Linked DNA regions of Homo sapiens: regions 2, 3, 4, 5, 6 and 7 are each linked to region 1. Evidence: promoter capture Hi-C in 16 types of primary human blood cells and fetal thymus (Javierre and others, 2016). All regions are on one chromosome and are shown on one strand. The core of a region is centred on a gene start or on the middle of the fragment in contact, and the rest is flanking DNA. Distances in the headings are between cores, read along the strand shown. Region 1 holds the start of TAS2R40 (taste 2 receptor member 40). Region 2 overlaps LOC105375541 (a long non-coding RNA gene). Region 3 has its middle 15 kb from the start of EPHB6. Region 4 overlaps EPHB6 (EPH receptor B6). Region 5 holds the start of TRPV6 (transient receptor potential cation channel subfamily V member 6). Region 6 overlaps EPHA1-AS1 (EPHA1 antisense RNA 1). Region 7 overlaps TRPV5 (transient receptor potential cation channel subfamily V member 5).

Region 1 (4,158 bases), core at 470-2,969:
ATCCTCTCTAGACTATTGGTTTTTACCCATCCCCTCCCTTTTGGCATTATCTTCTGGAACTCCTGGGATCAGGATGTCACCCTATCACTCCACTAATGGCACACATGGCATCCTTTTAGTCAAATCCAGAGCCTTTTTCTTCACCCTTTACTTTCCTCGGAACTCTGCAGCACTTGATAATTTCCAGCAGCCTTTCTTTCCTGAATCTTCTTTTTCTGTAGCCACTCTGGTTTCCCTTCTACCCCGTGGACTGAGTGCTGTGCTCTGCTTCACCAGCCCTAACTGTGTGTTAGTTGGGTGTCTTAAGTAGGATGATCATGTAATTCTTCATCCAGACCATGATATTCTTGAGAATTAAAGGATGCTCAATTGACAACAGACAATAAACAGAGATTGTCCCTGGCAAACCGATATGTCTGGCCACCCTCTCCTTAAGGCTCAGGAGGAGAAGAAAGTGGAGAGATCTCAGGGCAGGATATGAATGAACATAGTTCAAGGAGCTTTCAAAGTCCATCTTCAGGTTTCTTAGTTACTTCTGTTTAGAATCTCAAGTTAAAAATTCAGCTTCATATTTATAAAAGGATCACGTTATCTGAGAAGTGTCAGAGCAGGTTTGGGAGAGAAGAGACGGGTGAGGAGAGAGTTCTACCTGAGGCAAAGGCAGAAGTGGTTGGACCAGGTCCCGCAGAACTCCGTGAGTTCCAGTCACAGAGTCTGCCCTTTTAGGTAAAGAGGAACTTGGTGCTGAAACCGCTTCCAGGCTCTTCTCAGCCCAGGGTTGCCCAAGATCAGTTGTACTGAGTGGCCGGCAGGGTAGGCAGCCATGATGATCTTGCACAAAATATTCCAGGAACTGTAAGTGTCAAAGATGTTGGACGTGGAAAGAAATAGAGCAATTGCATTGAAAATGTAGAGGATGAGAAAGTAGCTGGTGGCTTTGATGGCCCCTATGTGAGCCTTCATGCTGGGGTCCCTGGACCCTGTGGCATTGCTTCCCATGTGTAGGGTGTGTCTCTTGAGAGAGAGGATCAGCAGGGTGGCTGCCAGGATGAACATGATCAGAGGAACGAAGATCCCCATGTTATAGAAAAATACCAGGTTGACCATATTGGTCTCAGAGAAGTACTTCTTCTCCGTGGAGTTGGAGGAGGGGATAGGAATGGAGCTATTCACATACACATTGAAGACATCTCTCGAGAGAGGAAAGCTGAAGCTTAAGGAAACCAACACTGACAGCCTGAGAAGCCAAGGCATCAGCACTATGATTTTCCTCTTCATCAGGAAGAACAAAGGATGATTGAAGTTTGCAATTCTAAGACAATAGAAGACTTTGAGCCAGGCAGCAAACCAGAGATTGGAATGGTTCAGAAAGACAGTGATGACTTTGAAGAGGATATACACTGAGTTTTGGTTATAAACAATTCGGAATAGCAGACTGAAAATGTTCTCCAGCATCATCCAAATCTGTAGCAAGAGCCTGGAAAAGCTCAGCATCAACATAATGCGGTCACCAGTGGGGAGTGTTTTGCCCCTGGCCCACTCAGCCCCATAGATGGCCGTGATGAAGCCACTCCCAAGGATGCCAGTGATGCACTCTATTCCGGAGACCACCAAAGTGAAGGTGACCTTGAACTTGGATATGTCTTTATCTGTGGCATCTGTGTTCACCGTTGCCATTCTCTTTGATCCTGACTTTCAGGTTTCTGCGCCAAGAATGGGTAACTGCTCTGCAATCTTCTGACCCTTGCTCAATGTTATAATTTCTGCCGCCCTCATTAATGGTTATTTCCAATTTTTCTCCATTTGTTTATCACATGACTACAAGTTAGAGGCTTCACATGCAAATAATGAGAGGATCTGGTTACTGGGTCTGTCTCAATTTTTCATAAAGATACATTTGTCTTGGGCTTTCAGAAGCTCACTGGAAATAATTTGAGACATGTTTCTAGCTCAACACCTTCTTACCTTATTTACTTTAAGTCCACATTTACCTGATAAGCAATGAATACAAGGCCTTTTTACTTGTCTCACAAGATCTCTGTTACCTGCTAAATTATTTGTAAAAGCTCATACAGCTTTTAAAATCTGTTTTCCCCACTTCTTTTCTTGTCTCTCTTATTTTGGGAGAGAGTTTTATTTTGATAGTTACCATGTTTGTGAATAAGAAATTCCCATAAGCTCATATATGAACATCTTTTACTTAGAATTGAGTTTCTTCCAAAAAGGCCTGCTATTATAATGTCCTCGAATAGTATATAGAAAAGCCAAAATTGGATGCTATTCGAGTTGGAGAGAAGGAAGTCTCCATAGTCCCAGTTTTTATTGTTTGTGTATGTGTCATCAATTTCAGCTTACTGAGATCCCACATGACTATTTGAGCTCAGAATCAGGTAGAATGAGCCTGGGGAGAATTCAGTGTTCTGGACATGGTGTTGAAGTTTGGAAATGTGATAAGGTACTATGACTTGAAATTTAATTTCCTACTTTTTAACCCTGGCTGTGAACCAGAATGAACTCTGGCACTTTACAAGAATATGTAGATGCCCAGGACTCGTCCAAATCTAGGAAATCAGAACTGGACTAGGGCTCAGGCATGCTATCTTTTAAAAAAGCCGAAAGGTCTTGTTGCTCATAGTCAGGATTGAGATCCAAAATCTTAGCTGGAAACCAATGAGCCTTGGGTCAGATTTGGCCTGTAGTCATTTTACCTTGCATTGGTTAATGCTGTACAGCATTAATCCACCAGTGTGTAACTTTTCTTTTTGAGGGGTTCTATTGGCAAACATTTAAACTTAGGAGATTACTTATATGCATGCACAAAAAATCTATCTTCTCTTGAAAAATTAGAAGATTTGGCAGTATTGGGTCTTCATAGTGAACTGGCTGAAGCTGAGTAATGGCTGCCCATTTTAAACAAGGTATATACTTTTCAGTTTGTTGACAATACTAATTCCTAGTGTCTTCTTGACACAGAAGCTGAGTGCCAGTTATCATTTTCCAGTGTGCTTACCCTGTTATTTTTATTTGATTATTTTTCTTTTTGAGACTGGGTCTCACTCTATCACCCAGGCTGGAGTGCAGTGGTGTAATCATGGCTCACTGCAGCCTTGACCTCCATAGCTCAGGTGATCCCCACACTTCAGCCACCTGAGTAGCTGGGACTACAGATGCATGCCAACACACCTGGCTAAGTTTTGTATTTTTTGTAGAGACAGAGTTTCGCCATGTTGGCTAGGCTGATCTTGAATTCTTGGGCTCAAGCAATCCTCCCATCTCAGCCTCCGAAAATACTGGGACTATAGGTGTGAGCTACCATCCTTCACACCTTGGTCCATTATATTTTGGGCCTTGGTCCATTATATTTTTTAATAATATAAATTGATGAATGATAAAAATGGGTTTCCCCACCCCAAATTAATTTTATTTAAAATAAGGAAGTTGGCTGGGCGCAGTGGCTCATGCCCGCAATCCTAGCACTTTGGGAGGCTGAGGAGGAGGATTGCTTGAGCTCAGGGGTTTGAGGTCAGGCTGGGCAACATAGTGAAACCCCTTCTCTACCAAAAATACAAAAAATTATCTGGGCATGGTGGCATGCACCTGTGGTCTCAACTACTCGAGAGGCTGAGGTGGGAGGATCCTTGAGCCTGGGAGGCGGAGGTCTCAGTGAGCTGAGATGGAGCTACTGCACTCCAGCCTGGGTGACAGAGCCAGACCGTGTCTCAAAAATAAATAAATTAATTAAATAAGGAAGTAGAGATTTATTATTTGTATAGAAATAAGCACCAGGCAAAGCAATATATTTCAAAATTAAGAAAGCATTATTTAGGGAAATTAAAACTTATGTCAACACGGAGATTTGTACAAAAATGCTCACAGCAGCTTTATTCATAATAGTCAGAACTGGAAACGAGATTTGTTGGCAGGTTCTGCATCTCCTGTAAGAGACTCATTAACTTTGGTTAGTTCTCTTAATTGAGGACAGTAGTATTTGTCAGCAGCTTTCACGTATTCCAAAGCATCAAACTCACTTTTTGGTTTATTTTGTCCCAACATATGCAAGTTTGTAATAAATGATATCTCCCCAAATTTCTGGCACACAATCGTTGACTTCCATTGTTCTGGTACTGTTTTCTATTGGTCTTCATTCATGTTTTTCTC
Region 2 (4,158 bases), core at 943-3,442, 400 kb after region 1:
TTGTCCTTCCTTGCCTGATGTCTAATGTCTTGACAACTGGTGCTTTATGTATTTTGTCCCTTACTTTGTTTTCACTGGAAATAGAAAGTCAATTATTTTTAAAGAGATTTTTTAAATGGCACAAATACTGTTTTTTATATTTATTACATATTTACTAATGATATTCTATCTGTAATAGTCTGTAGTTGGTTTGTATCAGCTCATAGGACCCAGTTGTTAAATATCCAGAAATTCTGTGAACCAGTTGTTAGAAATTGTTGTTTGCTTGAATTTGGCCATGGTGGGAATATTTATATTCACAAAATTGGTCAAAATGCTATAAATCCAGGCTTTTCCCTTTTTTCCTTTTTATCCCTCACAGGGAGCTGGCTTACCAATTCCATCTGGACTTTTTTTCATTTTGTCTGAAAGACATCCTTTAACATTTCTTATAGTGTGTGTGTCTCCTGGCAAAGAATTATTTTAGTTTTTTCATGTCTGAGAAGTTTATTGTGCCAATGTTTTTGAAAGATATTTTCACTGGATATAGAGTACTAGGTTAAGAGGATTTTTTTTACTTTAAATAATTTAAAGATGTTTCTCCACACTCTTTTGCCTGAATTGTTTCTAGTGAGATGACTGCAGTCATTCTTAACTGTGTTCATTTGTACATAGTGTGTCTTTTATTCTCTGGCTGCTTTTCAAGATTTTTCTTTATTAGTTTTAAGCAATCCAATGATACTATATCTTGTTAAAGTGTTCTTCATGTTACTTGTGCTTGGAGTTCATGAAACTTCTTCAATCTGTGGCTTTTCCTTTTCATTAAATTTAAAACTGCTTCAGCTATTAGTTATTCAATTTCTTTTTTCTGCATTAGTCCTCCAGTTTTATAGGACTCTCAATATTAGGCTGCTTAATGCTGTTCTACAGCTCACTGATGCTCTGCTCACTTTTTTTAAGTCAGTTTCTTTCTGTTTTTATCCTAGGTGAATTCTATTACCTTATCTTTAAGTTTGACTTGAGATACCTAATCTGCTGTTAATCCCATCCAGTATATTATAAAATCACATTCATTGTATTTTGCATCGGAAGAAGTTTTATTTCAGTCTTTTTTAAATCTTCCACGTCTCTTCTTAACATATGTACACTCTCTTCTATCCTGCCGAACATATTGAATATATATTTAATAGCCTTGTCTGCTAACTCCATCATGTATATCATTTCTGGATCTGTTTCTATTGAGTGTTTTTCTCCTCCTTATGACCCATATTTTTCTTTTTCTTTGCATATATGACTTTTTAAAATTGGATATCAGATATTTGAATTTTACGTTTCTAGCTACTGGAGTATTTGTATCCCTTAAATAAATTTGGGACTTTATTTTGTGATGCAGATAGATTACATAGAAACAATTTGATATTTCTGAGTCTTGTTTTGGAGCTTTGTAAGTTGTATCTAGGACAGCCTTTAGTGTACAGCAAATTTGCTTCCCGCGACTGGGGTGATCCGCTTCTGAGAATTCTCCTCAATGCCCTCTGTGTTAGGAGGTCTCCCACTCTGGTTGATGGAAGCACCATCTTTTCCCGGCCCCGTGTGGACTTTGAGATGGTTCTGCTTGATCCATCGAGTGGTCTCTCCCTAGCCTCAGGTTGTTTTCTTGTACTCACTGGTCAGAGCAGTTGAAGAGTCACTGGGAGTCCAATGCACATTCCAGAGCACTTCCCACCCACCGCTTTCTCCTCCCTGGGTCTCTTCCCTGGAATTTTAGCCATTTTGGCCTCCTCAAACCCTGAATGCAAGTCTCCTTAACTCAGAGAGACTGCCAGGCGCTGTTTGGGCTTCTCCTCCCTATAATACTGCCTGAAAAAGATCTCCAGGCTATAAACTGAGGCCATCACAGGGTTCACTTTATTCATTTCACTTCTTTCAGGGATCACGGTCTTGAGCCATCTGTTGTCCAGAGTTTCATATATTTCATGCATTTTAATTGTTTCAGGTTTGAGGGTAAATTCAGCCTCTGTTACCCCATCATAGAATTCCCTCAGACACAGATGTGTTAAGCTTTAGGAAATTCTACTGTAACCTATCTTCATGTATTCTCTTCCTCTCCCTTTAGGTTCATCTTCTTACTGTTCTTCACCGATGTCCTGTACTTTCAGCCTCTGTACCTTTGGTCATTTCTGTACCATTCATCCTTTCTTGCCTTTTAATGTCATTTTTATCAGTCTAAAACCCTATGACTTCTCAAGGACCATCTCAGAGTCTGTCTCTTATGTGAAAGTTAAACTGAGCCTCATACCTGAAAGTAATCTCTTTCATAAACAAACTTTTTTGAGCTTATCCTGCTTGGGTTTTGCTAAGCTTCCTGGATCTGTAGGTGGATATTATTTATCATGTATGAAACATTTTGGCCACTATTTTAAAAATAATTGTTTTCTGCCACCACTTTCTCTCCTCTATGTTGAAGACTCCAATGATATGTGTGCTAGGTGGCTTGATATTGTTTGGGAGTTCCCTGAGACCTCTTCCAGTTTTTGTAGTTGTTTAGCTTTATTTTCCTCTCTCTTGTTTTGACAGTTTCTGTTGTCCTGATTTCCTGTTCATAGACATTTCTCCTATAGTGTCTACTCCAACTTAAGCTTATCTAGCAAAATTTTCATTTCAGATATTTTTCAGATCTAGAAGTTCTATTTAGCTTTTTTATAGTTTCTGTTTCATTCTTCATTATGTTGTGTTTCACTATAAATCCTTGAACATATTTAATAATAGCCATTTTAGTATATTAGCCATTTATAAGTCCCATTATTTTAATTTACCATCTCTGCCATTTCTGGGTTGATTTCAATTGCCTAATATTACTACTTAGCATAGACACATTTTCCAGCTTTTAAGTATATCCCATAATTTCTGACTGGATGCTCAACATTATGAATGTTACTTTTTTATTATCTGAATTTTGTTTTCTTCTCTCAAAGAGTGTTGAGCTTTATTCTAGTGGGCAGTTGACTTGCTTGCAGGTCAACTTGTCTGCTTTTCCTTTCAAGGGCTCTTTTAAGCTTTGTTAGGGTTAATGGACGGTAGACTTATTCTATGCCATTTGAGTCCTACTCTAAGTTATGGGCTTCCTGGGATACCTGTTCAATGTTCCAGGTATTCAACAAAGCTATTCTGATGGCTCAGAGCTGTATCTCTCTCAGCCTCGACCAAGATCTAGTAATTATTCATACTGTAGTTCACCAGCAGTTGTTAATTCTCCAGTACTTATTCTTTGCCTGCCCCTGTGGAGTTTCACCCAATGGATGCCAGCTTAGTATTTACCCAAAGACTCAATGAGACCTCATGAAAATTGCGGGGCTCTTTCCGTGCATGGCCTCCTCTTCTCTGAGCTGTGTCCTCAGCTCAGTAAGAATTTCAGGGTGCCATGCTCTGCTTGGGTCCCTCTTGTTTGTACAGTAACCCAGGAAATTCTGGGTAGAAAACGGAAATGATCACAGCACGCACCTCATTTGTCTCCTTTCACTTATGGATCACAGTTTTGTGCCATCTCTTGTCCAATATTAGAAAACAATTATCTCACGTATATTGCCCAGTTTTCTAGGTGTTTATTATTGGAGGGTATAATGGATTGAATTATACCCACCATCCCCCCAGAAAAAGATATGTTGACATCCCAACCCTCAGTACCTCAGAATGTGACTCTGTTTGAAAATAGGGTCATTGCAAGTGTGACTAGTTAAGATGAGGTCATACTGGAGCACTGTGGACTCCTAATATGACTGATGTACTTGTAAGAAGACAGCCGTGGGAAGACAGAAACACACAGGGAAAATGCCATGTAATGCCAAAGGCAGAGTTTAAAGTTATGTAGCTGCAAGTTAAGGAATGTCAAAATTTGCCAGCAAATCAACAGAAGCTAGGAATAGGCAAGGAAGAATTTCCTTCCAGGTTTCAGAGGAAGCATAGCTCTGTTGATACCTTGATTTTAGACTTCTAGGCTCCAGAACCATGAGACAATAAATTCTGTTGTTTTAAGTCACCCAGTTTGTGGTACTTTATTACAGCAGCTCAAGGAGAATTACAAAGTGGATGGATTGAGTACAAGTTCCTTCATCGTAAGTGGAAGCAGAAGTTCCTAACTCTTTTAGTATTTGTCATCTGAACTACTTTTCTATCTTTTAC
Region 3 (4,158 bases), core at 1,242-3,741, 380 kb after region 1:
CCGCCCCAGTCCTTGAAATGACACAAAACATGGCTGCCCCAGTCCCTGCTTCTGTAGCTGATCATGAGTACTAAATTAATAATCAAAACGACCTTATTCCACCTCCTATGCCCTGTGTCCTCCACCAGCACCTTAGCAGGCCAAAGTTCTTTTCTAGTAGGGTGAGTCATATCTTCATTCCCAGAGGATCTGAGTCCTTGGTCCTTGGGATCCTGGCTTCATTGAGTTGCTGCTGTGTTTCCTATCTAGATATATTGGACAAGGGATGCTAAAAGGCACCCCAGGGAATTCTCTGGGTTCCAGGCATTGTTCTGCTTGTCACTATTATGGAACAGCCACTGAATTTCCCATGAATGGTCATGGGGATCATCCATTCAAGCCAGTGACCACCTTTGCTGCCTGTTATTTTAGTAGCATGAGGAGCTCCAAATGCCAGAAGGCAATCTCAGCTTCCCATTTAATAGAACAATGACTTTATTTCTTAGAGGAAAAATTTCTCCCTTGGATAGAAATTAGTACAAGGTATGGGAAAGGAAGCAAAATTCCTTAAGTGGTCCACTTAAGGTGTGATAGGAAGAATCTATCCCTATCTCCACTCTTTGTTTCCTGGGCCTGAGTGTTCTGGCAATGAGCGATAAAGCAATATATTGTCCACTAGGTTAGGGCATATAACACTACTATAGAACAGTGCCCCAACCTCTCAGAGGGTGGTCTCCTCACTGACCCATTGGCAGGCCATTCTGTCTTTCTACCAATCAAGCTGCTTCTAGGTGGTGTGGCACATGATAAAACCAGATAATTCTATGTGCGTAAGTCTACGTCTACACTTACAACACCATAAAATATGTTCTTTGGTCAGAGATGATGTCAAAATGATGAATAAGTCATTCAATAAGTCCAAGAATGATGGTGCTGACAGAAACATTGTGGGTAAGGAAGGAAAATTCTTCTTGAGAATATGTACATACTCCTGTGAAATTAAGTTATGTCTCCCTAATGATAGATAGATAGAAGGGATTCAAAGTAATCAGGCTTCTGGGAGATCTCCTTAAACACCTGAGAATGGTGCTATGATGGGGACTAAACTTTAGTATCTCCTTTTGCTGGTGCTGATAACCTCCTATTAGCCTTGCAAAGGAAGTCCATGTAACTGAGCCCATGTAGCACTTCCATTGATGTCTTTGGAGCGGCCTTGCACATGGGCTCATGGAGAAAGTCCCGGGATGGAGCATCCATTCACTTTCTCACTAAGATCATTCATCCTCCTTAGCATGCTATTTCTTCCTAAAAAATTTTATTTTCTTCCTTAAGATATTCTAGCAGAATGCTCTTACTTCTTGTTCTAATATGAACTTCTTATTCCCTGGTTTTACCACAGAACCAACATCCTGGCCATCCTGAGATTTAATTTTACTGAATTTTGGAGTTTGTTTCACTGTACTTTGATTTCTTATCTTCAGCTTTTTTTCCCTTAGGACTACATTTTTTGTGTGTGCTGGAATTCATATTTTAATACACTTTATAGAAAAACTTTCATCTCTGTCTGTATTAAATGACTTTATTCTATCTTAATGCTTTATTAATATTTTGGTTAGTTATAGTATTTGAGATGTAAAACATTTTCTTTTATAGTCTGACTGAAGTCCTGACTTCATTTACTTCTAGTACTTAATGTTGCTGGTATGAAGTCAGCTGCCAATCTGATTCAATTCTGCCCATGATAATTTGTTTTATTTATTTTTTCTGCAGTTTGTAGGGTTTTCTTTTTATCATTTCTATTCTGAAGTTGTATAAGAATATGTAAAAAATATTTATCTACTGTGCTTACCTTTCCCCTGACTGCTTTTCATCCTTTTTTTTTGTTTGTGATTTATATGTTTTCTATTAATAGCTTTTCTCCTGAAATTATCATTTAAGCAATAATTTTTAACTTATGTCAACTGTCCCTTATTCTTTTTCTTTTTCATTTTACTCTTTTTTTAAATAAATAAATATAACGTTTTCTCAATTTTTTTTTTTTTGAGTTGGAATTTTGCTCTGTTGCCCAGGCTGGAGTGCAGTGGCACGACCTCAGTTCATGGCAACCTCCACCTCCTGGGTTCCAGTAATTCTCCTACCTCACCCTCCCAAGTAGCTGGGATTGCAGGCATGCGCCACCAAGCCTGGCTAATTTTTTTTTTTTTTTTGTATTTAGTAGAGATGGGGTTTCACCATGTTGATCAGGCTGATTTTAAACTCCTGACCTTAGGTGATCCGCCTGACTCCGCCTCCCAAAGTGCTGAGATTATAGGTGTGAGCCACTTCACCCAGCCTCAAAATTTTAAAAAAGAAAAATTAGACTTATAATTCAATTAAAGTTTTTGTCTTTTCCTAAAATTATATATGTTTCCTCTGGGGTCAATATTCTGTTTAATTATCTTGGTGTTTCTCTTTTATTTTGCTATATTAGTAAGAATAATTAATGCTACCTGCTATTACAAATAATCTCAAAATTCTTAGTGCCTTAATCCAATGTAAGTTTTCTTGTTTTGCTTTCACCTCACATAAAGGCCAATGCGTATCATCCTGGTCAGAGAGTTCTCCGGGGCAACTTTCCTATAAGGGATGACTCAGAGATGCAGAGCACCACTACTCTAGGATTCCCATTATTGCTGCAAAAAGTGAGAGAGGAGTATCACATGTAGGAGATTTTGTGTTTCTGGCCAAACCTGGGTGGCTTATGTTTCTACTGCATTCCCCTGTTTAGAATTGGTCATCAGGCCCAATCTAGATGTAAGGATACTGGGAAATGTAGTTTTTCTGTACTCCCCAGAGGATGATAAAATGGCTTGATAAATCTATAGAATTGTCTTTGCCAGAGCCTTTTGCTTTTCTTTTTAATCAAATGTCTGCTGATACTCAGTTGTCCGAGATGATTATGAATTTAGAAATGTTGATTATTACCTGTAACTGACTAACATTTCTTCTGATAGTAGTTTCCTTTTCCCTGCATACAAAGACTGCAAGATTTCTGTTTGTGGGTGTGGTATGTGGACAGGCAGGCTGTACTCTAAGATAAGCAAGCTGGCAGCCTGTACTCTGAAAGCCATTGCCCATCCTAGGCTGATAGTTCATTCAGCTTCACTTTATAGGCACTTTCCTTACACATACTCATGTGTGCGATGTGTGACTCAGCAGCCATTGGACATACAGTTCTTCAATCAGTTGTCTTACTTTAAGCACTTTCTCATGCTTTGACTACATCTCTAAGGGCTTATAGAATGCTATAAAAATGACCCTGCCTCACCTGCTGCTTTCTCTTCTACCTCTATTGAGCTAGTCTCTTTTCGCTCTGATTTACATTAAATCACCTTGGCCATATCCATCTCCGGTCTTTGAGAAACTCATAAAATCTTATTTATTTATTTATTGTTATTTTTTTGAGACGGATTCTCGCTCTGTCACCCAGGCTGGAGTGCAGTGGCGCAATCTCGGCTCATGGCAAGCTCCGCCTCCTGGGTTCAAGGGATTCTCCTGACTCAGCCTCCCGAGTAGCTGGGACTACAGGTGCCCACCACCACGACTGGTTAATTTTTTTGTATTTTTATTAGAGACAGGGTTTCACTGTGTTAGCCAGGATGGTCTCAATCTCCTGACCTCATGATCTGCCTGCCTCGGCCTTAAAATCTTATTTTGTTAATATTCTCCATCCAGTATTTGACAATTATGTTCTTTTCTTCTCTTTTATACTTTTTCCTATAACATATTTCTATACTTTATTGCTTTTATTTTGGAGTGAGGGGAGATAAATGAGTTTTTCTCAATCTATGACTTTGAACTTAAATTTTTCACTTAGCGTAATATGATGTTTCATGCCAATAAAACTATTTTGCATATCATTAAATAATATTCTAAAGTAAGTTTTGAAATATAAAAGATATTCCATTTTATAATTTACTATAATTTACCTACTCATTTCCTCTGATTGAATATTTAAGTTATTTCAGTATTTTCTTTCTTTCTCTTTCTTTCTTTCTTTCTTTCTTTCTTTCTTTCTTTCTTTCTTTCTTCCTTCCTTCCTTCCTTCTTCTCTCTCTCTTTCTTTCTCTTTCTTTCTTTCTTTCTTTCTTTCTTTCTTTCTTTCTTTCTTTCTTTCTTTCTTTCTTTCTTTCTTTCTTT
Region 4 (4,158 bases), core at 1-2,500, 360 kb after region 1:
CCCTGTCTCTGTGTTCATTTCTCACAGCTCTCCTTCCTAGAAGTGGGGCAGAGGGTGTTTCTGGGTCAATCTTACCCTTTTTTTTTTTTTCTGCAAGGGGTTATTCCAGTTCTTTCTCTTCATTTACTCTCCTCCCTTCCTCCAACAGCCACCCTGTATTGGAAGTTAGAAGATTTTCATTAAAGGCAGCTGGTTAAGAAGCTGCTGCATCCTACAGACACATGAATTGAATCCTCACCACACCGCCCCACCCCCGATGGACCTGGATGCTCTAGAAATTTCAGAGGGGCAGTGAAGCAGTGAAGCGGGAGGGACACAGGAAGATGGCTGTGGGGTATGATGGGAGGGAAGGGACCAGAATAAATACAGAAAGAACACAGGCATGAAGATTCAGTCTGATAAATGAGACAGTGCAGGGAGGGGGCAGAGCTATGGAGGTCTGGCATACACTTTGTGAACAAAGATCCTCGTGCCCCAAGGGGTGCATGTTTTCCTAGAGCTTACAGAAGAATAACCCTATGGCTTTAACATATGAAAAGATGCTTCTTGTTTGCTCACATTGAAAGGAAACCAGGTTAAAACTACAGCAACAGGCCATTTGTTATAGAAGGAATATTTGTGCCCCCCCTCCATTCATATGTTGAAATCCTAACTCCCAAGATGATGGTATTAGAAGATGGGGCCTTTGGGAGGAAATTTTAGGTCATGAGGGTGGAGCCCTCACTAATCATGAGATTAGTGCCCAGATGAAAGAGACCCCAAAGGGCTTTCTCACCCTTTTTCTGCCATTCGAGGACACAACAAAGAAGAGGGCAGTCTGAAACCTAGAAGAGAGGCTTCGCCAGGAACTGACCATGCCGGCACCCTGATCTTGGACTTCCCAGCATCTAGACTGTGAGAAAGATATTTCTATTGTGTATAAGCTACTAGGTCTATTGCACTTTGTTATGGCAGCCACAGTTGCCTAAGACACCATTTTTACCATGTTGGACAAGATATGGGAAATAGGTTCTCTTGTACATACTCTGCTTGAATCCAAATTGGAATATTCTCTTGGGAGGACAATTGGGTAATATCTTTCCAGCAACTACATTGTAAGAATGTGTCCTTCAGGTACTGTATACTTGTATGGGTTTGCACAGATGTTTGAACAAAGACATTAATTGCAAATTGTTTATAAGAGAAAAGGCTGTAAACTAACTGTCCATCAATTGGAAGACAGTAAAATTATAGTACATCCTTAGAAAGAAATACGGGCAACTGTTGATGCACTGATATAAAAAGCATTTCCAAGTGAAAGTGGGACAATGGAGAACAGTGTAAAGTAAGCTCCCCTTTGTTAAGAAGGATATATACACATACATATGTATGGAAGGATATCTATGGAAGAGCATCCAAAACCTGTGAAAAAGGCAAAGGAAGTGGACTGAGACCCAGTGCAAGGGAGACTTAACTTTCATTGTATTCTCATTAATTGTATCCATTTAAATTTTTGCATTCTTAAACTCTTGCATGTGTATTCTTTCAACTAAATCATTGATTAAAATTTTCTTTAAAACTATAGGATAATAACTGTTTAGTAAAGTTAATCAAAACAGTGTTCATATCCTCATAATGGCTTCTCAGAACTATGTAGTAAGCTACCTCTTATATAAAACCTTCCTGTGCCTTCAGAAGGTACACCACTAAGCTCACGAGCAAATGAACAGAAGGAATAGCTACCTCCAGTGTCACAATGAAGACAAACAGGCTTGGCACCTCCTTTGCTTGTTGATTTAGAGATTGGCGGTTCTCTATCTCTCCTCGTGTCTGAGTCTCAGAAGTCTGTGAATTGGGTGGACTATAATCCCTTTATTTCTGTGAAGAAAAAAAAGAGACATGTTGCCCAGATTGCTCAAAAGACATAGAACTGAGAGGAAAACAAAAAAAAAGCCAATTAGAAGAGAAGTTGTGATTTGTTTTTCCTGGATATATATGGCCTTGGGATTGTTGAAAGCTATCATAAAACAAAAATCAAACTATGAAACTTTAATTGCAACAAATATGAAAATCATAATTTGATTCCTACTAATTTTTTTCTGGCACTGCGGGCTGTGCTGTCCATGAAGTTATCATGGAAATACACCATTTCTACATACGCGTGGGCTGATGTAGAGTGGGCACCTGCCAACTAGCCCCTGAAACTCACCTTTTATACATCTTTAACCCTATTTGTGAAATAGAGAGTTCAATTTACAGCCTATGGAGACAAGTAAGGAGCATTTCCATATGGCAAATTGCTCTTAAGTAATGTTCTTTGCAAAAATGTCTGAAATGTTACTAGGATCCTTCACAGATGAAATAAATGCTTTGGAGAGGAACGGGGAGATCATGAAGTAAAAAGCAGGCATAGCTATTAAATTCTGTAACCTTGGCACCGTCACCAGTGGCTGTTTAATAAATATCCTAAAGTAATTCATGTTGTAAGTGCATCCCCTCCAAACTCTCAATGGCTTAATTTGGAGACGTGCTTGACACACTGAAGCAAACCAGAGTCACGGAGTCCTTAGAAATACTGTTATCAGGGAAAGAAAATGCCAGCAGCAGGTTTTTAAACAATGAAGGCTATTTTACCATTTGCCTAGAAGTTATTCTTTAAAATAGTCTCTTTCTTTCACTCAGAACATGGATGGATTCTGTAATCTGTACAAAGAAGAAACAGTAAGCCCTGTGTCTTCTCAAGCTTACAACTAGGCAAATAATCATGAAGAAGGAACAATAAATATTTTGGAAATATTTCAATGAATTATTTTGAAAGACAGCCAAGCAAGATAGAAAAGATGCGCTGCAGATAGTATCAGCTGTCCAATATGGAACACTCTGGAAGATGAATAGCAAGATATTTGCTTTGATGACCCGAACTACAAGGAACACAGTCACTTGTGGTTGCAATAGGGCGTGCTTGCATAGCCTTAGCATGCCTCGTAATGACAACACGAAGCTGGCCTCCCTCCAGAAGATCCAGAAAAGAGCAAAAGCAATTATGAAACATGGATGTTAAGGCCACTCAGCTTCTGCCATCAAGAAACAGCATAAAGAAAAGAAGAAAATGGAGACACTGCCTGTGGATGACCACTTCAGCAATTTTTTGAAATTTTACTAAGAACAAAGATATTCATTAAAAAGAAATGGTTGAGGATCTTAAAGTACCCAGAAGGATACTTCTAATGTTTGATGAGGACCTCTTTTAGATTCAGATCCAGATGACTGAAGGTTATAAATACATTTTTTCAGAAAAAAAAAATTGTTGCTGAGTCAGACTAGGAAGTTAGGTGAGTTCTTACTTATCAAACAAACCAGATAAATTCAAGACTTTTAATTTTAATATATAAAAAGAATATGGGTGTACCCCTGTTGCAGGAATCCAAATAAAGAAAAAGGAAGCTTTATTAAGATATGGAATAAATTGCTGTCAGCAAATTCATACCACTGCAGATTCTTTTGAAGCCAATTTCAAAGGCAGAAACATAAGTGACAAGAACACGGCTGCTCCACATGCCTGGAATGCTAAGTAAGCAGGACTCAGAACTTGATTTTTCAAAGGTGTCTTCAATGGTTGTGGGCATGGAGCATCTTCTGCATTTGGTCCAGGAGAGCATCCCAGGGACAGGCCAGTACATTTCTCCTGCCACAGAGATGGGAAGCAGCCTCTGCAAAGCCAGGCCCCTTGCTCCTCTCTCACAGCCTGCTTGAGAGTCCTCTCTCCTCTGACTTACAAAAGGAACTGGTCAGTATTTAGAAATTCTCTAACACAAGAATGTGCAAAAGAACTTATCTCCTTTAGAAAAATATTCACATTTCAGATGTGTATAAGGTTTTAAAAATATAAAACCAGAAGCAGCAGAAATGTGAACATAAAACAATGGTGGAGAAAACGAGACGGATTAGACAAAGTTTTAGGTAACAAAAATTGCAGTCTATGACTTTATAATATGTTCTCAGCTTCTTTTATAGATATATCACTTAATATCTTTTTGATACAGTAGAGACAATAGATCCACAAGCCTGCTACATCTCTTTGGTTTACAAAAATAAGACTGTTTCTTAGGTATCAAGGTTGTGTTTTGTTTTCAGAAACTGGCAAAAAGTAAAGATTTGTAGAATCATAGGTTACAAAGC
Region 5 (4,158 bases), core at 1,155-3,654, 340 kb after region 1:
TCTGTTGGCTGATCCATGCACAACACCAGGTGGAGGAGGCTGAGGAAGAGGAAGAGCATTGGAAAACAACTTTGTCCTCCTCCTATCCTCCTCCCTCCCTAAGTCTCCCTCCCAAAGCCTCCCTCCCCCAGCCTCTCTCCCCAGCGTAACGAAGGCCTCATTGCTTTCTCTCCTTCCCCACCAGACACTAAACTGGGGTCTTTGAAGCTAAATAGGTCTTTGAAGCGACAAACCACTGGCTTAATGGGCACAAAGGTCTTGGGGTTCAAGGTTTGGGTTCTAGCACCTTCCCCCAACCCAGCCCGAACCCACTGACCCAGGTGGGTGGGGACGAAGCTAATCCAATTGAACTGTTTGCTCAGGACTGCGTGGCCTGGCCTCTGCCCAGCGGCAGGAACACAAATAGCTTTCCACTTGAAGGGGTCCTTCTCTCCCCTGCCCTACCTCAGCATCCACCTCCCTCCACACACCGACTCCCCCCACACACAGCACATATGACACACACCCCATGACATACATACACACACAACACACACCATACATACACACATAGTAAACCCACCATACACTACACAAATCATGTATACACCACACACACACACACACATCATGTACACGCACACATACCTTAAAGGTACCATATACATCACCCACTACACACCATACACACAACACACATGCAACAATCTTTCCACAATACGTATATACACAACACACATGTCACACATACCATCACAGACACCACATCCACACGCTCTACAGGCCATACCTACACATATCACATATATCATACACACGTAGACACATACCAAACACACCACAGGCACATCATATACATACAGCATACCACACACAAAACACCCCACCGATGCACATCATGAACACACGCATAAACACCACACACAAATGCACATGGGCACACACGCCATACACACGCCACACACACACTCCCCTGGCTGGGTCTTCCAACTCTGAGTCAGAGAAAGTTAGGACAAAACAGACTCTGAAGCTAGGAAGTGATCCACACACCTGTGACTCTGAACACCCAGACACCTGCCCCTAGGCTATTGGCACCTGGCTGGCACCAGGAGGTTGGATAAGCCCGGGCTTCTGCCCCTTTCCAGTGGAAAAGTTGAACTAAATGACCTTTCCGACAGCTTCCAGCAAGCTCATGATGGAGCTCTTTGTTGTGGGAAGACGATGGGCCATGCTTAATGCCATCATTCTTCTGTATGACTGTGCGAGTCACTTAACCTCTCTGAAGCTCTGTTGGCCAGTTAGAATGAGGAGGTGTGCTAGGGAGAAAGAAGTGGGCTTGGAATGAGGGATGGGTGTGAATCTTGCCTCTGCCACCTCTATGGCCTTGGGAGAGTTCCTTTACCATGGTGAGCTTTGGTTTCTCCCATCAATACAATGTAGATAATAATACCTGCCTTGCAGGTTTGTTACGAGTTTACCTGGGAACGCTCAGTTAAAAGGCCCAGCACACAGTAGCAGCTGAATGTCACCTCCACGGGAAGGCTGGCAGATAGAATACTTGCAAAACGTGGGGTATATTTATACTAAAAAATTCTTTGTTGTTTATCTAAAATTCAAATTTGACCACGTGTCCTGTATTTTATCGGGCACCCACCCCATGCACGGGGCATTGTGGACAGTCTGTGGAGCTCCTGAGCAGGGGGTCTGCCCAGAGCTAGATTTTGTGCCCTGGCTGGTGAGCGAAGAATGCATTTTACATCTTTGGGGGTGGTTAGAAAACAACCACCAAAACAAAACCAAAGAATAACGTACATTAGAGAGTGTACATGGCTTGCAAAACCTAACATCTTTACATTTCCTATCAGCCCTTCCAGAAAAAGTTTGCTGACCCAAAGGTGATGGGGACTGAGAGGAAAGTCTGGGAGAACTGAGTATCTTCGCAATTTATATACCTATTTCAGGCCTGGCAAGAATGAAACTGGAAGAGTCCAGAAAATGGAATTCTCCAGGACATAAGCAGGGGGAGGCAGAGAGTGAGGCAGGTGGTCGGCAGAAGAGGCACTGTGGGAAAGTGGGGCGCTCCCTCCTGGGAGTCCTCAACATTGGGAATGGGCCTGCCCTGACTCCTCCCCTCCTTTCTCACTGCCTAGAGTCTCTCAGGGTAGGTCACTGGGTGTTCTGACGTCCAAGGGAGGCCTCGCCAGTCTTTCTGAAGGCCTCCCTGGTTGTGACTGGCCTGGGGGCAGGGAGAGAGCCCTGGGTGGAGAAAGAATTGGAGTTGGCACAAGTCCCCCTTGGTAGGCAGGTCTGTGGCTGGCCTGTGTCTTTAAATCTCAGGTAATTTGGGAGGAGGGAGGGCGTGTCCGTGCAGCTTTGGCTCCTCCTGCTCACTCCCAGCAGGAGCTCCAGACAGGCCAGCCCTGCAGAGTCCTGGCTGGCTCTGCCAAGTGTAACAAACTCACAGCCCTCTCCAAACTGGCTGGGGCTGCTGGGAGACTCCCAAGGAACTCGTCAGGAAGGCAGGAGACAGGAGACGGGACCTCTACAGGGAGACGGTGGGCCGGCCCTTGGGGGGGCTGATGTGGCCCCAAGGCTGAGTCCCGTCAGGGTCTGGCCTCGGCCTCAGGCCCCCAAGGAGCCGGCCCTACACCCCATGGGTTTGTCACTGCCCAAGGAGAAAGGGCTAATTCTCTGCCTATGGAGCAAGTTCTGCAGATGGTTCCAGAGACGGGAGTCCTGGGCCCAGAGCCGAGATGAGCAGAACCTGCTGCAGCAGAAGAGGTAAGGCCCCCTTGGTCTGCTCCCTTCCCCACCTCCCCAGGCCTGCACCTCTACCCCTCACCCCTCCCTCACCTCCCGTCTTTGTTTGGCACCTTTGGCTGGACAGATGGTGCTCCCAGGCCCGGACTGGCTCCTTGGGAGCATTCTGTCTTAAGAGCCTCAGCCTGTAGGGCTGGTGAAAGAGGATGGGGTTGAGATGGGCACAGGTGTTCACTATCTTAAGATCTAATTCGATTCTGCAAGCCTCTTGTGAGTACTTCTCTAAGGGCCAGGCGTCTTGCTGGGGCTTGTAAGGATAGAGCATCACAGCCCCTCCACCCAAGAGGGGACGGCAGGTGAGGACAATGCCTTCTGTATCTCCACTGCTTGCCTCTAGAACAGTCTCTCTGGCAGGAACACATAGTATACATATGTTCGCATGGAGGAATGAGTGAACGATTGAATGAATGAAGCAGAGAGAACCGCGGACACCAGGAACCAGAAAATAAGACAAAATGTGAAAAAAGTGACCATTCCTATGTATCTGTCTCATCAGACACTGACCAAGGCCTTACTATTTGCCCAGCACTGGGGGGATATGAAGACCTACAACGCTCAAACCCAACCTTGAGGTGTATTTCTCTCTCAGTGCGGGTGGGGACTGAGGGGAAGCGGGTCAAAATAACAGATGTTCCGAGGACCTGTGCTCTTCCGCATTCAGGTGGTGGAAATCGAGACTCTAGCGTTTAAGCCCTAAGGACATTCACTGGTGGCTTCCAGCCCCTGAAAACTTCCTAAACCCGTGTCCTGCTTTCTTCACCATGACAGCTTGGAGTACAGAGCAGGAGAGGAGCAGGGAATCGGAACTCAGGGCTATCCCTGCATGTGGTCTCTTCTTCAAGGTCTCTAATAGAGTTCTCTACCCAGTTGGTGGCATGCTAGAAGGAAGTCCTGCCTGTTGGGGCTTTCCCTGGGTCACGAAGGAGGCAGATGTCTGGTCATAGAGGAAAGCCTGAAGTCTTTGTGCCTTAGGGTTTTTCTCTGACCCCAAGAGTAGGAGCCTGCTTTAGCCTGACCGGGGAGGCTGCCTGGAGGCCCCTGTGTTTTCTTTTGCTGAAGGATTCTGGGTTGGGGATGGTCTCTTTCTGTGAATTATGGCTTCCCATCTCTCCAGCCGCCCACCTCTCCCCCAAGGCCTGGGAGAGTGGGGACTGGAGCACATGTTTGGCTGATGACATCTTGGGGCAACAGAATGGCATTGTTGTTAGAGAGTAGGTCGTCCTCACTGGCTTCACTCATCCTCTTCCCACTCTTAGGACCCCAGGGCCAGGGGATCCAGGCACAGAGTGCAAAAAGGCCTGGGGGATTGGAAGGGGTGGTGGAGATTCCCTGTGTGCGATATCAGGGGAGAGCAGAGGG
Region 6 (4,158 bases), core at 1,659-4,158, 300 kb before region 1:
ATGAGTACCATTCAACCCTCCCCATTACCTTTAGCATAAGAGTTGTGTAGGGACTGACATAATTGTTTGTTATCAATAGGGGAAGTCACTCTACTATATCATAGAATCCTTTTCCATGTAAATATTCTACAATGCTGTACATGTGCGAAGTGGGAGATAGGCAGAACACAAGCCTGTGGTTTGCTCAGCGGAAAAATGGAGACCACAGACTCTCCCAGGGTCTCTGTTTCTGGTTTTGTCTCATGTTTCCAAACTCAAGCACCTTGGAGCACAGCAAGGATAACCTTCTGGACCCCTTCTTTTCTCTAGCTATCCTCATTCTCATAGTGATCTCCAGTTTTATCACTTTATTTTTTATTTTTGTTTTATTTATTTATTTATTTATTTATTTTTTTGAGATGGAGTCTCACTCTGTCACCCAGGCTGGAGTGCAGTCGCACGATCTTGGCTCACTGCAACCTCTGCCTCCTGGATTCAAGCAATTCTCCTGCCTCAGCCTCCCGAGAGGCTCAGATTATAGGCATGTGCCACCATGCCTGGCTAATTTTTTGTATTTTTAGTAGAGATAGGGTTTCACCATGTTGGCCAAGCTGGTCTCGAACTCCTGACCTCAAGTTATCCACCCACCTCAGCCTCCCAAAATGCAGGGGTTACAGGCATAAGCCACTGTGCTCAGTCCAGTTTTACCACTTTAAATGCCACCTACATTTGATGACTTCAAATTGGTACTCTAAACTGGACTTATCCTGTGAACTACATGTAGATCACATGTCCATTGAGACAGATATCCAAGTGGATCTGTCTAAATACCCATTAGACAGATCCACTTGGGTATCTAATAGACATCTCAAACTTAGCATGTCTTGCACTAAACCTCTGATCTTACCTCCTCTAAAACTTTCTCTACCTGAGGCTTTCCTCCTTTCAGGTAATGATACCTCTCCACTTCCTGTTGCTCAAGGAAAAAAAAAGTCACTCTGACTCCTCTATTTCTTTACACTCCTTAGCTAATCCATCAGAAAATCCTGCTGGCTCTATATTTTTATTATATCCAGAATCCACTTATATCTCACCACTTCTACAGTGAATCTTATTCAAGTCACGTTTTCCCTCACCTGAATTATTTGAGGCTGACTGCTTTGCTTTCACCTGGTCCCATACAGTCTGTTCCCAACACAGCAGGCAGCATGATCCTTTTTTTACCATCCTGTCCTGAAAGCCCCAAGTGGCTACCCATCACACTCAGAATAAAGCCTAGTTCCCACAATCACCTGGAAGGCACCCCCAACTGGCTGTCCATTATCACTCTTCTGGACTCACCTGCTGCAATTCCATCCTTGCTTACTCCACCAGAGCCACACTGGCCTACTTGCTGGGATGGGAACATGCCAGACCTGCTCCCTGCTCAGAGCCCCGACTAACTAATTCTTCTGCCTGTAATGTCCATCCCCGACATAGCCACATAATTCACCTCTTTACCGCCTTCACGTTTTGCACCAAATATCACTTTCCCATGAAAGCCTTCCTCAAACATTCTATTTAAAATTGCATGCCGCCCCTCACATTCCCCATCATCCTCCTTTATTTTACCCCACTGGACTTATCACTTTCTAATATGCTACATAACTGACTTAATTTGATGATAGTATATCTCTTCTCTCTAGAATATAAGCTTCATGATGACAGAGCTTTTGGTCTGTTTTGCTCACTGATCTGTGCCTCAGTATCCAGATCACAGCCTGACACATAGTAGGTACTCAATAAGCATTTGTTAATGAATCAATGAATGAATAAATTAATTAAAACATGACCTCTAGAGTTCTATGATTCTGACATACATACACACAGGCAGGATCATAATCACATACTCAAAAGCAAGCCTTAAGCTCTCAAAGTTGAGAGGATCTGCCCGAATGGCAATCCACTGGTGCAGGCTTCCTACAGCAGTTTCCTGCAGACATGTGAGAGTTAGGGAATTCATTCATGCATCTGGACAGCCAGCTGCCTGCTCTAGCCATTGAACAAATGAAGACATCTTAGACCTGTGGGCACCTGATGCTTCACCATGGGATCTAGAGGGGGCCGCCTGGTCCAGCATGCGGAGGTGGGAATTGCTGTGAGAGAAGCAAGAAGCACTCTAGGGAAAGTGTGTGACCAGTGGGACAGACAGCACACTGGGCAGGTGGGCGGCTTGAGATGGGAAGAGCTGTTTTTCTCTGAACAGCTGCAGAGGAGTTGTCTGTGTGCCAAGCCCCTCCTAGGTCTCCAGCCTTGAAGAGGGTTTTTGTGGTGAGTAATTAATCACAGGACGCTTTTGCTCTGGCCCTCCCTTTGGAAGAGACTAGTATACTCCTCTCCTTCCTATCTCCCCACCCCTCCAGGGAAATAAAGGAAGCTAAGGTTATAGTTCTGACCAGACATAGCTCATCAGAAGCTACTGTGGAAATCCCCATTCTGGCTGCTCACCCTTCTCCCAGACTCTCCATCTCTTGTTTTTCACCGTTCAAGCTCTCCCTCTCCTCCACACCTGCCCACGGCATCTCCACAGTCTCCTCTCTATTTTGCCTGGGAGCTCTCCCACCTCCAAGCACCATGAACTGAGTCCCTCTCTGCCCACCTCCAAGTTGTTCCTCTCTCTGCACCCAGGTAAGGAGAAGCCTGGCATTGGGGGGATTGGTGGGCAAAGGAGAAGGAAGCACCAAGAGTAGAGCATGAAAATAAAGAAATCGAAACACTTTCCAGCTTGCTTTGCCCACAAGAGACAACTCCTTGTGACACGAGCATCTGTTCCCACGCAGCCACCCTCCTTCCACCGGATCTGGCGCCCCACATCAGAATCACGAAGCACACAGTGTTTTGTGTGCTCCAGCCTGTGGCACCCTCCAGTCGCGGGTACACTGAGGTGGAGTGAGGCGGGAGGAACATGAGGCAGCTACCGATGCCAGGACTTGGAGGTTCAGCTTCCATTTTTATCAAATGATTTTGCCCAAGTGCATCCGTTTTGCCTCAGCTTTCCCATCTAAAAATAGGAGAGTCTTGTCTTCTTCTCAAGTGCACAGAGGATTGCATGGTGAGAGGCATCCAGTGATGTGTTGTTTCTGTAGAATAATCTGTAAAAATAGAATTGAGGAAAATATTATTTCTTCAACTCTTAGAAGCAGAATAGAGAATATTCAAGAAGATGATATCCTTGATTATTTTTCAGCTCCATGGGAGAACAAATATTTGACCTCAGACAAAGCCTAGGAAGGAAAGTCTCCATGTATTACTCCTTTGTCTTGGTCAAAGAACAAAATCCCCAGGCCCCAGACCACATCAATAACAGGATCCGCCACTGAAGAGACTCCCCACTGATGAGACTGGGCCCCCCTCAGAGCCCAGCCTCGGGCCTCCTGAATCATTTAGGCATTTATTGCTCTTTCTCAGCAACCACAGGGATCTATTCTGGAAACACTAAGGCAGGCAATTGGATGGCAGGGAAATGATCCCGTTGGAAAGAGCCCCCGAAGCCAAAATCACTCACATCACTCTCAGGGGTGACAGATTTTCCAAGGGGCCTGCAACTTTCCGATGCAGCATTTGAAAATAATCAGCCACACTCCTGGAAAGTGGCTTGCCTGGGAGATCAACATCGTTTTTCTCACCAGTGTTTACTTTTGCATTTTGATGAATGATGAAAACACCTTGGCAGTACTGAGATAGCCTTGGTTTCCTCATCCAGGCAGCTCCCTTGCCCTGGTACTTCATTCCAGCTCTCATCTATGGCCAGCAAGAAACAGAAAAACATCTTTTAGAAGGAGGGTCTTGCTGGGTTTTCGAGGGAGATCACTTGCTGTTTTGTAGCACAAAATGATGTTTAGAAGTTTAAAGTATGTTCAAGTCTACTAAAATCAACTTCATGGAAAATGATAGTTATTTTTAGAAACAAATTTTGAAAACAAACTAGCTTCCCTATTAAATGCTAATATTTCTCAAGTAGATAAAGTAACTAATCCTCAGGCCTAGGGTCGTTTTCAAAATGTGAAAGTACAATATCATGCATCTATGTGTGATGAAGTTGACCTTCACAGCACCAGAACTGGGACAGTCCCTCCACCAGATAATTTTGATGTGGAACATTCAAGTGCTCATTTTTGAAGCTTATCCCTCGTCCTCTGG
Region 7 (4,158 bases), core at 831-3,330, 290 kb after region 1:
AACTTGGACCCTCTGCAGAGGGGCAGTGGGGATAGAGGGCCAGGGAGGCAAGGACTTTGTTTGTGCAGTGGCCTCAGGATGGGGGTGAATTTGCAATCTCAGCCCTGACCACTCTAGGCTGGTCAGGGACACCAGGCTCCCTGGGACTGATTCCCTGGGTGAGACGGGGCAGGGAACTGACTCCTCACAAAGGCCCCTCCTAGGAGCACTGCCTTAACAGGTAAAACCAGGCCCCACCTTTAGATTAAAAGCTTCTTCTTTAAATGAAAACACTTTGGCTGGGCGTGGTGGCTCACACCTGTAATCCCAGCACTTTGGGAGGCCGAGATGGGTGGATCACCTGAGGTCAGGAGTTCGAGAGCAGCCTGGCCAACATGCTGAAACCCCGTCTCTACCAAAAATAAAAAAACTAGTCAGGCATGGTGGTGGGCACCTGTAGTCCCAGCTACTCGGGAGGCTGAGGCAGGAGAATCACTTGAACCCAGGAGGCGGAAGTTGCAGTGAGCCGAGATCGCACCACTGCACTCCAGTCTGGGCAATAGAGTGAGACTTCGTCTCAAAAAAAATAAATAAATAAAATAAAAACACTTTTTCGCCCTGGCTCCTGGGGCTATTGGAAGAGAGGGATTTGGAGGTGGGGACCTCAGAGGAGCCACTCATCGGCCTGTCCTTTCTGTTCTTCCCCCTACACCATGTGCTTGCCTTTGGGGCCAATACACATATGTCTAGTTGGAGAGGCTCCAGCTTTATCTCTTTCTGGGTTCAAATCTGGGTATGGTAGAAGCAAAGATTAACAGAGGTCCTGTAGAATGAGTATCTCAACCTGTTTTGCCTTGAGACACCCACATAAACAAGCTGTTTAGACCTTTGCATCTAAGGGTATAATGCAGAAGAAAGAGGCACCCTGTAACTCACCCCACAACTCTCCACCCCCTGCAGGGACCTGTATCTAAATAACCTGAGGATGCTGGGCGCAATGTAATCCCAGCACTTTGGGAGGCCAAGGCAGGCGGATTGCCTGAGCTCAGGAGTTCGAGATCAGCCTGGCCAACATGGCAAAACCCCATCTCTACTAAAAATACAAAAAATTAGCTGGGCGTGGTGGTGCGTGCCTGTAATCCCAGCTACTCGGGAGACTGAGGCACAAGAATTGCTTGAACCTGGGAGGCAGAGGCTGCGGTAAGCTGAGATTGTACCACTGCACTCCAGCCTAGGCAACAGAGCAAGACTCTGTCTCAAAAAAAAAAAAAAAAAAAAAAATAGCCTGAGGGAGTAGTCAGAACTTTAGTGCCTCACAAATTTCACAAATTTCAAAATGCCTAGGAAAGATCTAGCAGTCGATCCATTCCTCCTCCCTCTGTGTTTTGGTCTCCCAAACTCCCCTTGGTTAAAGACAGTAGATTCAGCAGGCCCAGGAGCAGGGGGACCGCAGATGGAAGTGCCCTCTGTCCCGCTCTCCAACTATCCAGGATCTGAGACAGTTACTCAGGTTAGATGAATTCAGCCAAGCCTAGGGTCCTCTTCTTAGAGACTCTCAGACCACTCTTTCCAGACTACAGGTTCTCTTCCTATTAACTCTTCCCCTCCAGCAGAGCTTCAAGGGCCATCCTCACAGGAGAATCACCATGATGTGAATTGCAAGGAAGGCCCTGGGGCTGACCCTTGCCCAAGTCCACCCTCGGTCATTCGAGTCCAGTAGGCACTTCTTTCCAATTTGTCACTGCACGCTGTGTGAGTCACGTTGGTCTTAAAGAATGTCTTAGATCCCCTTTGCTCTTGGCCTCATTCTGCTATGACTGTCTCTTCCAAACTCACGTTCACCTTTCCCCAGGATTCTAGAGTCTCCACTGCTTCGAGCATCCAAGGAAAATGACCTGTCTGTTCTTAGGCAACTTCTACTGGACTGCACCTGTGACGTTCGACAAAGAGGTGGGATCTGGATTTAATGGGATGGAGGTGGGGGCAGAAGAACCTACTCCTCCTCCCCAAGACTTCGAGTTTGTGAAATAGGGCCTTGGAGGGTGTCTCTGGAGCCTGAGGCCCCTTCCTCAAGGGAATCTGAAAAGTGTCTAACATCTCTGTCTTACTCCAATCCAGGAGCCCTGGGGGAGACGGCGCTGCACATAGCAGCCCTCTATGACAACTTGGAGGCGGCCTTGGTGCTGATGGAGGCTGCCCCAGAGCTGGTCTTTGAGCCCACCACATGTGAGGCTTTTGCAGGTAAGGAGCCTACATGGTAATTCAAGGTGGAAACTTTGAGATGGAGGGTGTGCTGTTGTCTCTTAAAATTGGCCTCTGAAGGATGGGTTGGGGTGGGGTGATGGAGGGTCAGGAGGATGGGCTCCGTTGAGTTGGGAGAAATGCAAAGGTCCTGGTCTTGGCTTTTACCAATCTGTGGCTTCCTTCAGCATTTCCTTTCAAACCTCCCATAGTCCCTGTAGGACCTATCTCAATTTCTTTCTCTCATAGCAACATGAGAATGATTATATTCATAGCAATCCCCTGCTGGCTCCCAATAACTGAAGGGTAGGTCAATGAGCAGGGCAGCCTGAGGGATGAATTGCTCTTAGTCCCAGGCCACCCTGCCAAGCCCAGGGCAGAAGTCTAGCAAAGATCTATCAGGAACCTCCTGAGAGGGATGGTGGGGGATGCTGTGTCCCTGAGAGAACTGGGGACAGAGGGAGACCCTGATGATGGCTGTCTCTGGGCCAGGTCAGACTGCACTGCACATCGCTGTTGTGAACCAGAATGTGAACCTGGTGCGTGCCCTGCTCACCCGCAGGGCCAGTGTCTCTGCCAGAGCCACAGGCACTGCCTTCCGCCATAGTCCCCGCAACCTCATCTACTTTGGTGAGAGCAGGGTTGGGCTTGAAGGATGGTTGGCTGGAGAGGCGGGCAAGGCAGAGGGAGGCCAGGGCATGAGGGTCCTGCCTTCAGCTCCATCTGTTGGGCAGTTGAGAGGGGCAGCCCTTCTAGGGCTTAATTAAGCCAGAGGCCCATTCCCCTGATGGTTCCTTCCTCTGGTTCTGCTGGACGAGTGTCCCTCAGCCTAGAACTGAGATATGGGGGATGAGGAGGAGGCCCTTATTTGGGGGAGACTGCCCACCCCATCCTGCCATCCTGCGTTCTCCTGCCATGGATCTCTCTGTGTCCACAGGGGAGCACCCTTTGTCCTTTGCTGCCTGTGTGAACAGCGAGGAGATCGTGCGGCTGCTCATTGAGCATGGAGCTGACATCAGGGCCCAGGACTCCCTGGGTAAGAGCTGGGATGGGGAGGGGAGCTGGGATGCTGTGGGGAGCGAGGGACAGGGTAAGGAGTGGAGCTGGGACCTTTAGGAAGACCCCAGAGTGGGGATGGGGACATCAGGGACTTTAGGCCAGTGGCCACATGATACCCTGCGTCCTCCCCAGGAAACACAGTATTACACATCCTCATCCTCCAGCCCAACAAAACCTTTGCCTGCCAGATGTACAACCTGCTGCTGTCCTATGATGGACATGGGGACCACCTGCAGCCCCTGGACCTTGTGCCCAATCACCAGGGTCTCACCCCCTTCAAGCTGGCTGGAGTGGAGGGTAACACTGTGGTAAGAGACGCTCCCCATCCCTGAGGTGTCTTTCTAATGACCCTCAACCTATCCTGCTGGCCCTGGGAGAAATAGAGGTGAAGGGCCCACCTTTCTCTAAAATCCCTTTTCCCCAAACTCCCCAAAGGGATGGTGGTCCCTTGCTTCCTATTCCATCACTGAAATCTTCAGCTTCATGGTCCTTGACTCAAGAGGATTTGAGAACCTTACCTTAATGCATGTGCTGTGATAACCCAAAGCTCTAGCTTCCTTTGCCTATTTTCTTCTTTCTGCACTTTCTGGGGTTTTGGAGCAGGAAAGATGACAAAAAAGGGAAAGCTTGTAGATGCAGAGGTTTGCTGGTTCCCACTGTCTGTCTGTCTCAAGGGGTGGGCAACTGGCTCCATCCAATGGAGTTGTTCTCCTCGACCACCTTCTCACACGTTGGCCCCCTGACTCATCCTGGTGGTCTCTCAGATGTTCCAGCACCTGATGCAGAAGCGGAGGCACATCCAGTGGACGTATGGACCCCTGACCTCCATTCTCTACGACCTCACGGAGATCGACTCCTGGGGAGAGGAGCTGTCCTTCC

The links. The method cuts DNA at HindIII sites, captures the fragments that hold promoters and counts their contacts. A CHiCAGO score of 5 or more calls a contact.
Region 2: a contact is called between a fragment that was not itself captured here and the fragment with the promoter of TAS2R40 in region 1, in 1 of 17 cell types (total B cells). The highest score is 8.0, in total B cells.
Region 3: a fragment that was not itself captured here is called in contact with the fragment with the promoter of TAS2R40 in region 1 in 6 of 17 cell types (naive B cells, M2 macrophages, naive CD8 T cells and 3 more); the score reaches 7.0 in naive B cells.
Region 4: a contact is called between a fragment that was not itself captured here and the fragment with the promoter of TAS2R40 in region 1, in 6 of 17 cell types (M0 macrophages, M1 macrophages, naive B cells and 3 more). The highest score is 10.8, in M0 macrophages.
Region 5: a contact is called between the fragment with the promoter of TRPV6 here and the fragment with the promoter of TAS2R40 in region 1, in 16 of 17 cell types (M2 macrophages, total B cells, M1 macrophages and 13 more). The highest score is 22.1, in M2 macrophages.
Region 6: a fragment that was not itself captured here is called in contact with the fragment with the promoter of TAS2R40 in region 1 in 1 of 17 cell types (M0 macrophages); the score reaches 5.7 in M0 macrophages.
Region 7: a fragment that was not itself captured here is called in contact with the fragment with the promoter of TAS2R40 in region 1 in 4 of 17 cell types (neutrophils, M2 macrophages, M1 macrophages and 1 more); the score reaches 9.1 in neutrophils.

What each region holds. Positions count from the first base shown.
Region 1 is chr7:143,219,598-143,223,755 of GRCh38, reverse strand. TAS2R40 (taste 2 receptor member 40) reads right to left here and starts at 1,719. Exons shown (of 1, transcript NM_176882.2): 1 at 677-1,719. The coding sequence starts at 1,677. The coding sequence ends at 706. The HindIII fragment of the contact is 3,585 bases long and covers 1,216-4,158 here.
Region 2 is chr7:142,817,284-142,821,441 of GRCh38, reverse strand. LOC105375541 (a long non-coding RNA gene) reads right to left here. Exons shown (of 2, transcript XR_001745392.2): 2 at 4,006-4,158. Among named protein-coding and RNA genes, the nearest start is that of EPHB6, 36 kb to the left of the region's middle. The HindIII fragment of the contact is 300 bases long and covers 2,043-2,342 here.
Region 3 is chr7:142,837,604-142,841,761 of GRCh38, reverse strand. No RefSeq gene overlaps it. Among named protein-coding and RNA genes, the nearest start is that of EPHB6, 15 kb to the left of the region's middle. RefSeq lists a cis regulatory region at 2,588-3,289. The HindIII fragment of the contact is 5,151 bases long and covers 1-4,158 here.
Region 4 is chr7:142,858,751-142,862,908 of GRCh38, reverse strand. It overlaps EPHB6 (EPH receptor B6), which reads right to left. Exons shown (of 20, transcript NM_004445.6): 2 at 1,723-1,857; 3 at 776-892; 4 at 76-153. Among named protein-coding and RNA genes, the nearest start is that of EPHB6, 5.8 kb to the right of the region's middle. The HindIII fragment of the contact is 2,948 bases long and covers 1-2,724 here.
Region 5 is chr7:142,883,991-142,888,148 of GRCh38, reverse strand. It overlaps TRPV6 (transient receptor potential cation channel subfamily V member 6), which reads left to right and starts at 2,404. Exons shown (of 15, transcript NM_018646.6): 1 at 2,404-2,760. The coding sequence starts at 2,513. The HindIII fragment of the contact is 18,692 bases long and covers 1-4,158 here.
Region 6 is chr7:143,517,883-143,522,040 of GRCh38, reverse strand. EPHA1-AS1 (EPHA1 antisense RNA 1) reads right to left here. Exons shown (of 5, transcript NR_033897.1): 4 at 3,524-3,759; 5 at 1-3,110. Among named protein-coding and RNA genes, the nearest start is that of TAS2R41, 42 kb to the right of the region's middle. RefSeq lists a silencer at 71-365. The HindIII fragment of the contact is 2,467 bases long and covers 1,675-4,141 here.
Region 7 is chr7:142,928,120-142,932,277 of GRCh38, reverse strand. TRPV5 (transient receptor potential cation channel subfamily V member 5) reads left to right here. Exons shown (of 15, transcript NM_019841.7): 2 at 1,832-1,929; 3 at 2,098-2,220; 4 at 2,713-2,850; 5 at 3,158-3,256; 6 at 3,412-3,587; 7 at 4,044-4,158. Among named protein-coding and RNA genes, the nearest start is that of TRPV5, 3.5 kb to the left of the region's middle. The HindIII fragment of the contact is 3,654 bases long and covers 254-3,907 here.